4 separate regions of the Homo sapiens genome follow, and all the other regions are linked to region 3. The links are contacts of gene promoters, found by promoter capture Hi-C in blood cells and fetal thymus (Javierre and others, 2016). All regions are on one chromosome and are shown on one strand. The core of a region is centred on a gene start or on the middle of the fragment in contact, and the rest is flanking DNA. Distances in the headings are between cores, read along the strand shown. Region 1 has its middle 82 kb from the start of TMEM74. Region 2 has its middle 100 kb from the start of TMEM74. Region 3 holds the start of RSPO2 (R-spondin 2). Region 4 has its middle 62 kb from the start of TMEM74.

Evidence for each region. The method cuts DNA at HindIII sites, captures the fragments that hold promoters and counts their contacts. A CHiCAGO score of 5 or more calls a contact.
Region 1: a fragment that was not itself captured here is called in contact with the fragment with the promoter of RSPO2 in region 3 in 3 of 17 cell types (M0 macrophages, megakaryocytes and M2 macrophages); the score reaches 8.1 in M0 macrophages.
Region 2: a fragment that was not itself captured here is called in contact with the fragment with the promoter of RSPO2 in region 3 in 2 of 17 cell types (endothelial precursors and M2 macrophages); the score reaches 6.6 in endothelial precursors.
Region 4: a contact is called between a fragment that was not itself captured here and the fragment with the promoter of RSPO2 in region 3, in 2 of 17 cell types (M2 macrophages and M0 macrophages). The highest score is 5.4, in M2 macrophages.

The regions. Positions count from the first base shown.
Region 1 is chr8:108,704,671-108,707,370 of GRCh38, forward strand. It overlaps a transcript of TMEM74 not described here. Among named protein-coding and RNA genes, the nearest start is that of TMEM74, 82 kb to the right of the region's middle. The HindIII fragment of the contact is 8,157 bases long and covers 1-2,700 here.
Region 2 is chr8:108,682,855-108,685,554 of GRCh38, forward strand. It overlaps a transcript of TMEM74 not described here. Among named protein-coding and RNA genes, the nearest start is that of TMEM74, 100 kb to the right of the region's middle. The HindIII fragment of the contact is 743 bases long and covers 969-1,711 here.
Region 3 is chr8:108,082,254-108,084,953 of GRCh38, forward strand. RSPO2 (R-spondin 2) reads right to left here and starts at 1,367. Exons shown (of 6, transcript NM_178565.5): 1 at 944-1,367; 2 at 292-554. The coding sequence starts at 385. RefSeq lists an enhancer at 1-506 and a silencer at 223-398. The HindIII fragment of the contact is 4,613 bases long and covers 1-2,700 here.
Region 4 is chr8:108,723,846-108,726,545 of GRCh38, forward strand. It overlaps a transcript of TMEM74 not described here. Among named protein-coding and RNA genes, the nearest start is that of TMEM74, 62 kb to the right of the region's middle. The HindIII fragment of the contact is 939 bases long and covers 946-1,884 here.

The DNA of each region.
Region 1 (2,700 bases), core at 155-2,654, 620 kb after region 3:
ATTGGAGAAGACAGAAAAGTAAACACATGATCAGAGGCAGCAGCATGGCAAAAGCCCTCCAAGAGGAACTGTCAGAACATAGATGGAGGCATCAAACTCAGACTGAAGGAGGGAGGGAGGTTACCTGCAGGAGGTGGTGTCTTACCTTCCAGGTGTCTGAGGATTATGTGTAAAATAAAGGGGAGTACAAGTGTCAAACTGTCAGCAAAGTTTTCTAACATGCCTGTTCCATGCTTTAACCCTTGAGAGGCCTCAGAGATTTGTAAATCTCAAAGTGAAAAATATCTGCTTAGTGATCACTGAAATTCAAGGATATAAACATCCGATATAATGTATGAGGGCAAATTTTACATGTCAAATCACTTAGAAACATCACTTTTAGTAAAATCATGATAGCATCGAATTTTCTTTTCATCTACTTCTGTAATTGATATTAACATATTTATACAGCCCAAATTAGTCCCACGGTTTGTAAAACCCTTTTCTTTACTGAGTATCTGTGTCAGCTTGTGATTAGCAGACTCTATAGGGTGTCTAATAAAGAAAAAGACAACATAAAACTGGAAAAAGACCTAAAAGTGTGATGGAAGTCAACGAACTTGATGCTTGCAAAATGTTCTGAGAAGGAAGGTTATTTATCTGTGTTAACAACGCCTTGAAGTCTGTTTTAGTGTGTTGTAGTGGAATGCAGATTTAATTCAGAGAAATGTGATTAGGAGAGAAAAAGGAGTTGTTAATTCCTGGATGGATCTTGGGCAAGTCATTTAATCCCAAGTCTCAGACACAGGGCTACCTCTAGCCCATATGGTTCTTATATACAAATTAGGAAAAGGCTCCCCTGTCTTTGTGGGTGTAGCCCAGCTGGCACTAGGCTTGATGAACAGAATGTGGGATGGATCTCAGCCTTCTCTTACTCCTTAGTTGTGTCTCTTTCTGTAATGAATAACCTCCTCAAGCAGATGTAGATGCCCTGGCCAGAAATCTTAACAGTAAAATGGAGCTCGTACATCTTTTATGTACCTTACAAGGTGGCTGCAGGAGTCTTATGAAAAAAAAAGTATATACATAACACACATGAGTTGTATTATACCAAATCTAATGCTCCATATTTGGAAGAAGGAGTTCAGTGAGAGTGTTGTATCAACAATCACAGATACTCTCATTAGAGATGCTCACAAGAGAACTTACAGTTTCTAATTAGACACCTGCTGCAAATGTCATTCAGGATGGCCTGAGGATGTTCATGTTCTGTGGAGTACAGCAACTCTGATTTCTTGGAAGGATTCTTTTGCTATCAAAATTCCAAACAGCAGAGCCCCAGCCACTTCAGAGAATTCTGAATCCTGTTGCCTAAATTAACAGGTGGCTGTAGGCAGAGGACTGTGTTGGCAGCCAATGGCCGCAGGTGCTGAGAGCCACCATTGATCTACTAAGCACACCAGAGGCACAGCTAAGCACAGTCTCATCTTTCTTTTGCATTGCATTGCATCCCAAATATTTGCTATTTTTTTCTAGAAGAATTAGCTCAACACGTATCTGTTTTAAAAATATTTCTAATAACTACGTTTTAGGTTTTATGGTTCCATTTAATTTATAAAAATTCAAATTACTGTGGTAAAGCAATTAAGTTTTCATTCTTTAAACCAAAATGGGAGGATGTACTCTGATTTTATACCTATGACACACACTCAAACATACTAGGCATGCTTCCTCATAGGGTCTTTGAACTTATGATGTATCTATAATACCTGGAATGCTCTTCCCTGCATATCTACACAAATAGCTCATCACCTCTTTTAAGTCTTGGAGGTTTGGTTTAATAATGTCAATGTACAGTAAATGTTTATTGAATTGAATTGCACATTGAAGGTGGTGGGAATCATTGACCCTTAATAGGTTATTTTGGACCTATTACTTTTTGAAAATTACTTAAAAATCTCTCTATATAATTATCCTTCTATTTAAAGCTGATGTTTATTACATTCCATTATTCATAAGTAGCTTTAAACAGGATTATCCATATTTTTTCCAAGTGTTTCTGCTCTTTAGTAATCTGACAGACAAGCCAACTCCTATGTTTAACATTAGCTTCTAGAATTACAAGGGGTGTGTGTGTGTGTGTGTGTGTGTGTGTGTGTGTATGCAAGCACATGCATGTAAAATAATATTTGAAATTTTTGGTGATATCCAAGACACTAAGATAAAAGTACAAAATAAAAAAGTCACAGGGGCAGTAGATGGATAGAGAATGACAGTGATCTAGAGGCTTTGGACAGCCATTCCTTTTCCCGCCTTGAAGTATTACCTTCTCATGTACCTCATACTCTTTACTTAATCCCTCATCCCAAGTTCATGTCCTTTGCAGGGACACGGATGAAGCTGGAAACCATCATTCTGAGCAAACAATCACAAGGACAGAAAACCAAACACCGCATGTTCTCACTCATAGGTGGGAACTGAACAATGAGAACACTTGGACACAGGGCGGGGAACATCACACACCGGGGCCTGTCGGGGGGTGGGGGGTAGGGGGAGGGATAGCATTAGGAAAAATACCTAATGTAAATGATGAGTTAATGGGTGCAGCAAACCAACATGGCACATGTACACCTATGTAACAAACCTGCATGTTGTGCACATGTACCCTAGAACTTAAACTATAAAAAAAAAAAATCCCTTATCCCCACCCTTTCCAAAGAA
Region 2 (2,700 bases), core at 90-2,589, 600 kb after region 3:
TAAGTGGATATTAATAATAATGAAATACAATCTATAGCAGATTTAATCAATAAAATGAGAAGTTAGCCTTTGTTTTCTTTAGTAAGTGTATTAAGGAATAAAGAAAAGACTGAAGAAAATGAAGCAAGAAAAAAGATATAGCTAAGGATGGAATTAAAGAAATTTTGACAGATGGTAAAAATAACTTGCCAAAAATAATAATAAAAAACAAATGCAGGATTATCTAAGAAGGTATAAATTACTTTAAATGACTCAGAAAGAGGTAAAAGTGGAATATATAAATAACCATACTGAAGGTCTATTCTTATAAACGACATCAGCTCAAAATGATTTATAAGCCAGTTCTATTCAACCTTTAAGGAACAGATAATTACTCTGTTAAACTTTCTGAAGCATTAAAAGTGTTGAAAAACTTTAAAATTAATTCAATTGAGCTGCATAATCCTGTTAAAAAACAGAAAATAAAAGAAAAAATAAGAGGAAACTATAGTTCAGTATCATTTATAAACATAATTACAAATAAGTTAAATATTTACAAGTTAAAATTAGCATTTTTTTCAGACAATAATGTAAATGATCAAACAAGTTTTATTCTAGAAGTGTAAGAATGATGTAGCATTCGGAAATTTATTAATATAATTTACTAAATTAACAAATTAGAGACCATTATACAATTATGTTATTACAAAATGGTATTACTCATGAATCAATCCATTCTTTTAAAAATTGTATTGTTTTAAATTGCCAAATAAACATTGTACATATTCATGGGGTACATAGTGATATTTCGATACATGTAATGTATAGTGATCAGACCAGGATAAATTAGTCTATCCATCATCTCAAACATTTATTTCTTTGTAATTTCTCATTTATTATGATTAAACATTTATCATATTCTCCCTCTACCCTTCCCAGTCTCTGGTATCCTCTATTCTACTCTTTACTTCTATGATATCAACTTTTTAAGCTTCCATATATAGTGAGAACATGCAATGTTTAACTTTCGTTTGCTGGTTTATTTCACTTAACATGATGTATCTCAGTTCCATCCATGCTGCTGCAAGTGACAGAATTTCATTCTTTTTTATGTCTGAATAGTATTCCATTGTGTATATATACACCACATTTTATTTATCCATTCACCTGTTGTTGGACACTTAGATTGATTCCATATCTTGGATATTGTGAATATGACTGTGATAAACATGGGCTGCAGATGTTTCTTCAATTTAATGATTTCCTTTGCTTTGGATAAATTACCAACAATGGGGTTGCTGGATCATATGGTAGTCCCAATTGTAGTTTCTTGAGGAACCTTCATACTGGTCCTTATAGTGGCTGCACTAGCTTATATTCCCACCAACAGTGTAGAGGAATTCTCTTTCCTTTGCATCCTTGCCAGCATTTGATATTTTTTGTTTTTCTGATAATAGCCATCCTAAGTGGGGTGAGATGGTACCTCATTGTGGTTTTGATTTGCATTTCTCTGATGATTAGTGATCTTGAACATTTTTTCATGGATTTGAACCCATTTATATGTCTTCTTTTGAGAAATATCTCTTCAGATTTTTTGCCCATTTTTTTTTTCCTTTTGAGATGTTTGAGTTCTTTGCATATTCTGGATATTAATGCCCTGTCAGATAAGTAGTTTACTCCCAGTCTGTAGGTTATTGTTTCACTCTGCTGACTGTTTCCTTTGTTGTGCAGAAGCTTTTTAGTTTGATATAATCCCATTTGTTTATTTTTGCTTTTGTGGCCTGTGCTTTTAAGGTCTTATTCATAAAAGCTTTTCCCAGACCAATATCTTGAAGCATTTACCCTATGTTTTTCTAATAGTTTTTTTTTTTTATCATTTTGGGTCTTATATTGTATCTTTGATCCATTTTGAGTTGATTTTTGTATAGGTGAGAGGCGGGGGGTTCTAAATTCATTCTAGTTTTAGTCATTTATGCCAGTACCATGCTGTTATGGTTACTACAGCTTTGTAGTATATTTTACGATCTAGGTGTGGAATACCTCCAGCTTTGTTCTTTTTGCTCAAGATTGCTTTGTCTATTCAGGGTCTTTTATGGTTTCATGAAAATTTTAGGAGTTTTTTCTATGTCTGTGAAGAATGTCATTGGTATTTTGATAGGGATTACATTGAATCTGCAGATTACTTTAGGTAGTATTGTCATTTTAACAATATTAATTCTTCCAATTAATGAGCATGGGATGTCTTTCTATTTGTTTGTATACTCTCCCATTTCTTTGATGAGTGTTTTGTAGTTTTTCTTGTAGAGATTTTTCACTTCCTTGATTAAACTTATTCCCAGGTATTTTGTTTGTTTTTTCATAGCTATTGTAAATGAGATTACCTTCTTGATTTCTTTTTCAGTTACTTTATTATTCGTGTATGGAAACACTACTGATTTTTGTATGTTAATTCTGTATCCTGCAACTTTACTGAATTTGTTTATTTACCCATTCTAATAAGTTTTGGTAGAATATTTAAGTTTTTCTATATGTAAGATCAGTCATCTGCAAACAGGAATAATTTGACTTTCTCTTTTCTAATTTGGATGCCCTTTATTTCTTTCTCTTGACTAACTATTCTGGCTAGGACTTCCTCAACACCATTTTTAATGAAGTCAAGCTAAAAATAAGTAAGTTCTTCCTTAATTTAATAAAAGAAAAAGGAAAAACTTAGCAAATAGC
Region 3 (2,700 bases), core at 117-2,616:
GGGGCGGCGAACATGAGTGCGGACCGCACGACTTAGCCCTGAGCGCCCGATTGGCGCCCGGCTCGCCGAGCTCCCAGCGCGTCTCGCTCCGGCTCCCCGCGCCTCCAGGGTACAGAAAACAGAGTGTTTTGTAGAGCTCCAGGGTCCTAAAGGTGGGGACTGGGGACCCGCAAAAGCTGGGGTGGAGAGCACAGCCCTGACCATCTGAGCCCCCGGAGCCAGGGCGTGAGTGAGCGCCTCCACACGCCACCCCTGAAGCCCACCACGCACCTTTGGCAGAGAGGGACCCACCTCGCTTACTGCGTCTCCATCGGTTGCCTTGGCAGTGGCTGTAATCCATGCAGTTCAGAATGATGAGGGCAAAGGAGAAAAGGCGAAACTGCATCTGGGCGGTCGGGCGGGGGAGAGACGCCTCTCAAAGTCTAGGAACTGGAGGGTTCGCCCAAAGAGCCGGCGCCGGCCGCGCTGCTGGGGAGGACTCAGAGGGAGACTCGCCACTCACCCCCGGGCCGCACCGGTCAGTTCAGCGCGATCAGCATCTCTCCGCCACGAACCTGAGAGACAAGAAGCGAAAACAGGGTGTGTGGGGGATGGAGAGAGCCCCGGGGAGGCAGCTGCGCCTTCGCACGTCCCAATTTAAAGAAGAGAGGGAAGGAGGAAGCGAACCCACTGCCTAGCACGAGCCGCGGAGCGGCTTAATCCAGAGCGGGCAGCTGCGGACGAGTTGGAGAGGAAGGTGATTATAATCAGTGAATTAGCAACCTCTGCCGAGCCCTAAGCTCCGACCCAGCGGCATAATGCGTTGTGCCGGCGCTCCGGGGAAAGGAAAGAACTCTAAAGGCACTGAGAGCGCAGGGCTAAAAGAACGCTCTTAGGCCATTTGGAGTCCACGGCGGTGTACCCAAGCGCCGCAGCTGCGGCTGCCTTGGTGTGGGTTGCCTACCGTGCGCACGTCTCGGGCGGCGCGGCCTCCCTAGGCGCGGTGCTCCATCCCGGGCTCGGGAAGCGAGCCGCTTGGTTAGCACGTGGGCTGGGGAAAAGTTTGCCGAGACCGGCTGGGAGCGCCTGGCAGCTCTGGAATTCCAGCGGCCGCCGCGGGGTTGGCGACGCCAGGCAGGAGCGCGGAGCGGCGGGTGCAGCCACTGGGATGCTCCGTCCCCGCCCGCGAGCGCGGTCCCCAGGCAAGGGGTGCGCCCGCTCACACTCTCTGCCTCCCTAACCAATTGTGTCGCTTCCTGCGCTTTCTCCACGGTCACTTCACAGCTAAGATTTCTTTCTTTCCGAGCTGTAGAAGGCAGAACGCTCTCGGGAGGACGAAGTGATCCGAAGGGATGTGGCAAGCGCACTTTCCGATGGAGATGCAGACCGGCTGAGGCTTGGGATGCTTCTATAAGTAGGTGGTGCTGTGGTCCAAGGCATCTAAGTCTAGGCTGCCTCGGAGTTCCTGGGTCCTAAAGCCAGAAACGTCCCGGTTTCCCTGAGGTCCTAAAGAACGTTGACAGCCAACAGCGCGCCTAACTTGGAGCGAATCCTCTTCGGGCTTTCCAGAGTGCGGGGGATAGATAAAGAGTAGCTGGGGAGACGCCCCCTGACCTTGCTGGGTCCCAGAACCCGGCTGCTCACCCCCAAGGGGTCCTCTCCAGCCCTCTAGGGTCAGTTCCAACCTCAGCGCCAACCTTTCTGCAGGGAGATCTGACTGAAGGACTGATGACTCCCTTTAAACTTTTGCAATATGCCACAACTCTGCCACTTTTTAATTTACATCTTGTCTGTGTTTTGCAGGAAGGTATGTTAGCCGGCTGAAATTATTCATAAAACGCGCCCCCACTTTGAGGAGTGAAATGGGTATTCCCAACAGCTTTTGTTCATCCTCAGAACTGTTATTTACTTTGTTTCTTCTCCAATAAAACAAAAACCTGTGATCCGTTGCCTGAAGTGCTGAAGAAGTTGGGGCCTTGATTCTTTAAAAATAATTTTAAAAAGTTCACTTCCCACTAAAGTATTTTTCATTCTTAATCCTCCTCTCATTTCCAAAGTCTCCTGAATTAAACTTTTAGGTGCTTTGGGTTTGGGGAAAATATTCTGTTTAACAAAGTGTTACATTAAATAGACTTGATGCCATCCAATTTCATTCTGGTGAAATCTGTCCTGCATTCACTACTGTAGGAAAAAATGTATTTATTCCTTAAGCAAAAGATAAGAATTTATGCCACTAACCGTGGCAGTATGAATGTCTATAGATATGCCCGCAGTTACCATATTATTATGATAGCATTTTATACTATTTAAATTCCCTTTTCTATTCCTTCAGTTTCAGAAGATGTTCAGAAATTTGATGACTTAAAAGACAATCATATAAAAAGAATATTGCAATACTCATATTTATTAACTATTCCATTATTGCCTATTCATAACTATTTTACAGACTCACTATTACATAGTGGTATTTATGTGCTAAGAATTTCAGCAGTATGCCTTTGATGCATGCCTGAGAACACCCAAGTAAATCTGAGTTGAGGTCATTGGTCCCATTTCATAGATAAGAAAATCCATCACTGAGACTGGCCCACAGGGCACAAATAGAGTTCACAAAACACATTGCAGAAACAGTGGATCTGTTTCTTGACTTTTGAGCCTTTGATTTTTATCACAGAATTTGGAAACATTTCAGTGTAGGGAGTGGCCCCAGTGTTTGGCATA
Region 4 (2,700 bases), core at 165-2,664, 640 kb after region 3:
CTTCCAGGGAATTATTAAATTCAATTTTTAAAGCAATTATAGATGAACTGTTTTCTAAAGTAAACGAAGGTGCTCCTGCCTTAGACATGGTGAAACTTCATTTGACTGTGAACTTATATTTGCAACAGTTTGGTTAAATTTCTTTAACATGATGAGGCATGATCCTGAGTTTGAGCCCCACAGTCCAACTTTGCTGTTTCCTTCACACACCCTGTACTTTCGAGGTCTTCATTATTTGCTTGATGATTGCTTCTAGTAAAGATTCCTCTGTCTCCACCCTTGTTTGCTGCCAAACCTCCACTTAGGCTGGCAGAGTTCAATTATCCTATTTTCTCAATAATCCTTCCCAATCTTCCCCCTCCTCCTGCACTTCATGTAAATCTATTTATTTCATCATCATGTTTCCCAAAACACATATTCTATTCCAGTTACTGGTTTATAGGCTTGTCTTCATGACTGAACTCTTTATTTTGTGTGAACAGTGACAGTCCCCTTATTTAATTGAGTATCAACAGAACCTCCCAGAGTGCAGAACATCATAGCTATTACATAAATGTTATGAAATCAAGTTGGATTTTGTATGGCTAGATACAGATGGTGCCATACAGATGTATCCATGATCATTTTTGAGTCTGTGGGATGATGCCAGTGATGATAATGGTGGTAATTAAAGTACATAAAGAACAACATATACAAAATTAAGAGATGATTAAATTTTTTCCTTCTTTCAGAAATAAAAAGTGATTCATTATTATGTTCATTATAAGCAAGTTCATTTATTAAAATGAGTTTATTGATATTTTAGGCAAAAGCAGAACAAGTTAAAATTGCTTATACCTAGACTAAAGCACCTCACTATGCATATCCAGGGAAATCTTAGGTACAGAGAGAAAGTGCACTTTCATGGTATATTTTGGGGTGCACTGGGCAGACTCCAATGGCTGAAGCTTCCTCCCATCTCCTTTATTTATTAGCTTCTGCGTCAGTCTCCATGCAGAAGCTAGAGTGATTTGACTTATTTAAGGAAGATATCAGACCATATAATTTACCTGCTTAGGACTCTCTGATGGCTTCCCAATCCTCTTAGAATAAAACACAACCTCTTTTCTTCAGCCTCTAGGCCCTGCACAGTCTGGCCTCTGCCAACCAGCCTGGGCATTTCTCACTGTGTTCTGCTTCATTCACAAGCTACAGCCAAACTCTCCTTTCTTCTCTTAGTTCAAGACACCATGTTTAGGCCCACTTCGAGCCATCTCCCCTGGAATGTTTTTCCCTCACCTCTTTAGAAGACTTGCCCCACCTTGCCATTTGGATCGCTCATTAAAGACACTTCCTTAACCTTCTCTGGTTGCCTAATCCAGATAGTTCCTCAAATCTTTCAAGAATGTCATCTTGTTTTGTCTTTATGATAGCTCTTAGCACTACCAAAACTTTTCTTGCTATTTGTTTATCTTTGTGTTTCTCTCCACTGAAAGTTATAATTCCTAATAAGAGATGCCTTGTTCATCTCTGTGTCTCAGAACCCCTAAAAGGAAAATAGGGGCTCAAAACCACTTCTTAAACAAATGAATGGGTAAATACACCACAGGAAACACAACTACTCATTCTTTTTAGTTTTCTTCCCCCTAATATTCTTTTAAATTATTTCTTTGGGCATTGGGGATAAGAACATACTCAGCTATGTTCTCTTAAATGTTTAGAAAATTAGACTAATAGAAAGTATATGCATCTTGAGATGTAAATGGTGAAAATACTCAGCTATCCTAAGACAGGTATGTAGTTTCTGCTAGAATCAAGGAGATGTAGAGAATATAGGAACTTGCTCAAGGAGATTAGCTGAAAATGAAATGAAAGAAAAGATGAGAGGAAAGTAGGGTCAAGAGAAGCTTTCTGTTTTTATTTCTAAAATGAAAGCAATATGTCTTTAAACATGTTATAGGGGCAAAGATTATATTAATTAATCAGGATATGTGTTATTGCAGAAATTTGAGATTTATTTTTCACATCTAAGGTGCTATAAATTACTCAAAGGATAATGTAACATTTTGTAGGAAGTACTAATATGTAATTATTGCCATAATCAGGGTGAGATTGTTGGATATTTATGAAGGAAGGGATCAGAAAAGAATTTTTGTATACCATGTGAGAACTTAGGTGAAGAATGCACCTGGGTAAATAAGGATTGTAATACACAATATACTATCAGATTTATTATGGACATTTCGGGCCATATTGATTGGGCCTGCTTCTTGTGGCTCAACTAGTGAGACCCGGGGTAAAATCCCTTTTCTGCTTAGTTTTCTTCATTCTTAAAATGGTAAGACTATATATCATCATCTCTAAGGTCTCTAACCAGTCTAAAACCTCTATACCTAATGGGAATGTTGTAGAATGCATTGAAAGCAGGAGGAAAGCATATAAATGAGTCCAGGTAAGGTAAAATTCATCTACTGCAAAATTCTGCCTGATGAGTTTATGTGTCACTTGGAAAGCACATGACCTCTTTTAAAGTATAGTAAATCAATTGTCAAATAGCACTAACAACGCCCTACAAGCAATTTAAGATTGCAAAATATTTCCTGGTGAAATGATACATTTTGTAGATAGAAGAAACTAAAGAATGATTTGATATAGCATTTTTGAAATTGTGGAATGCCAGTTTTATAAGACGTTAATAGGTACGGTGTAACAAATGAGTTT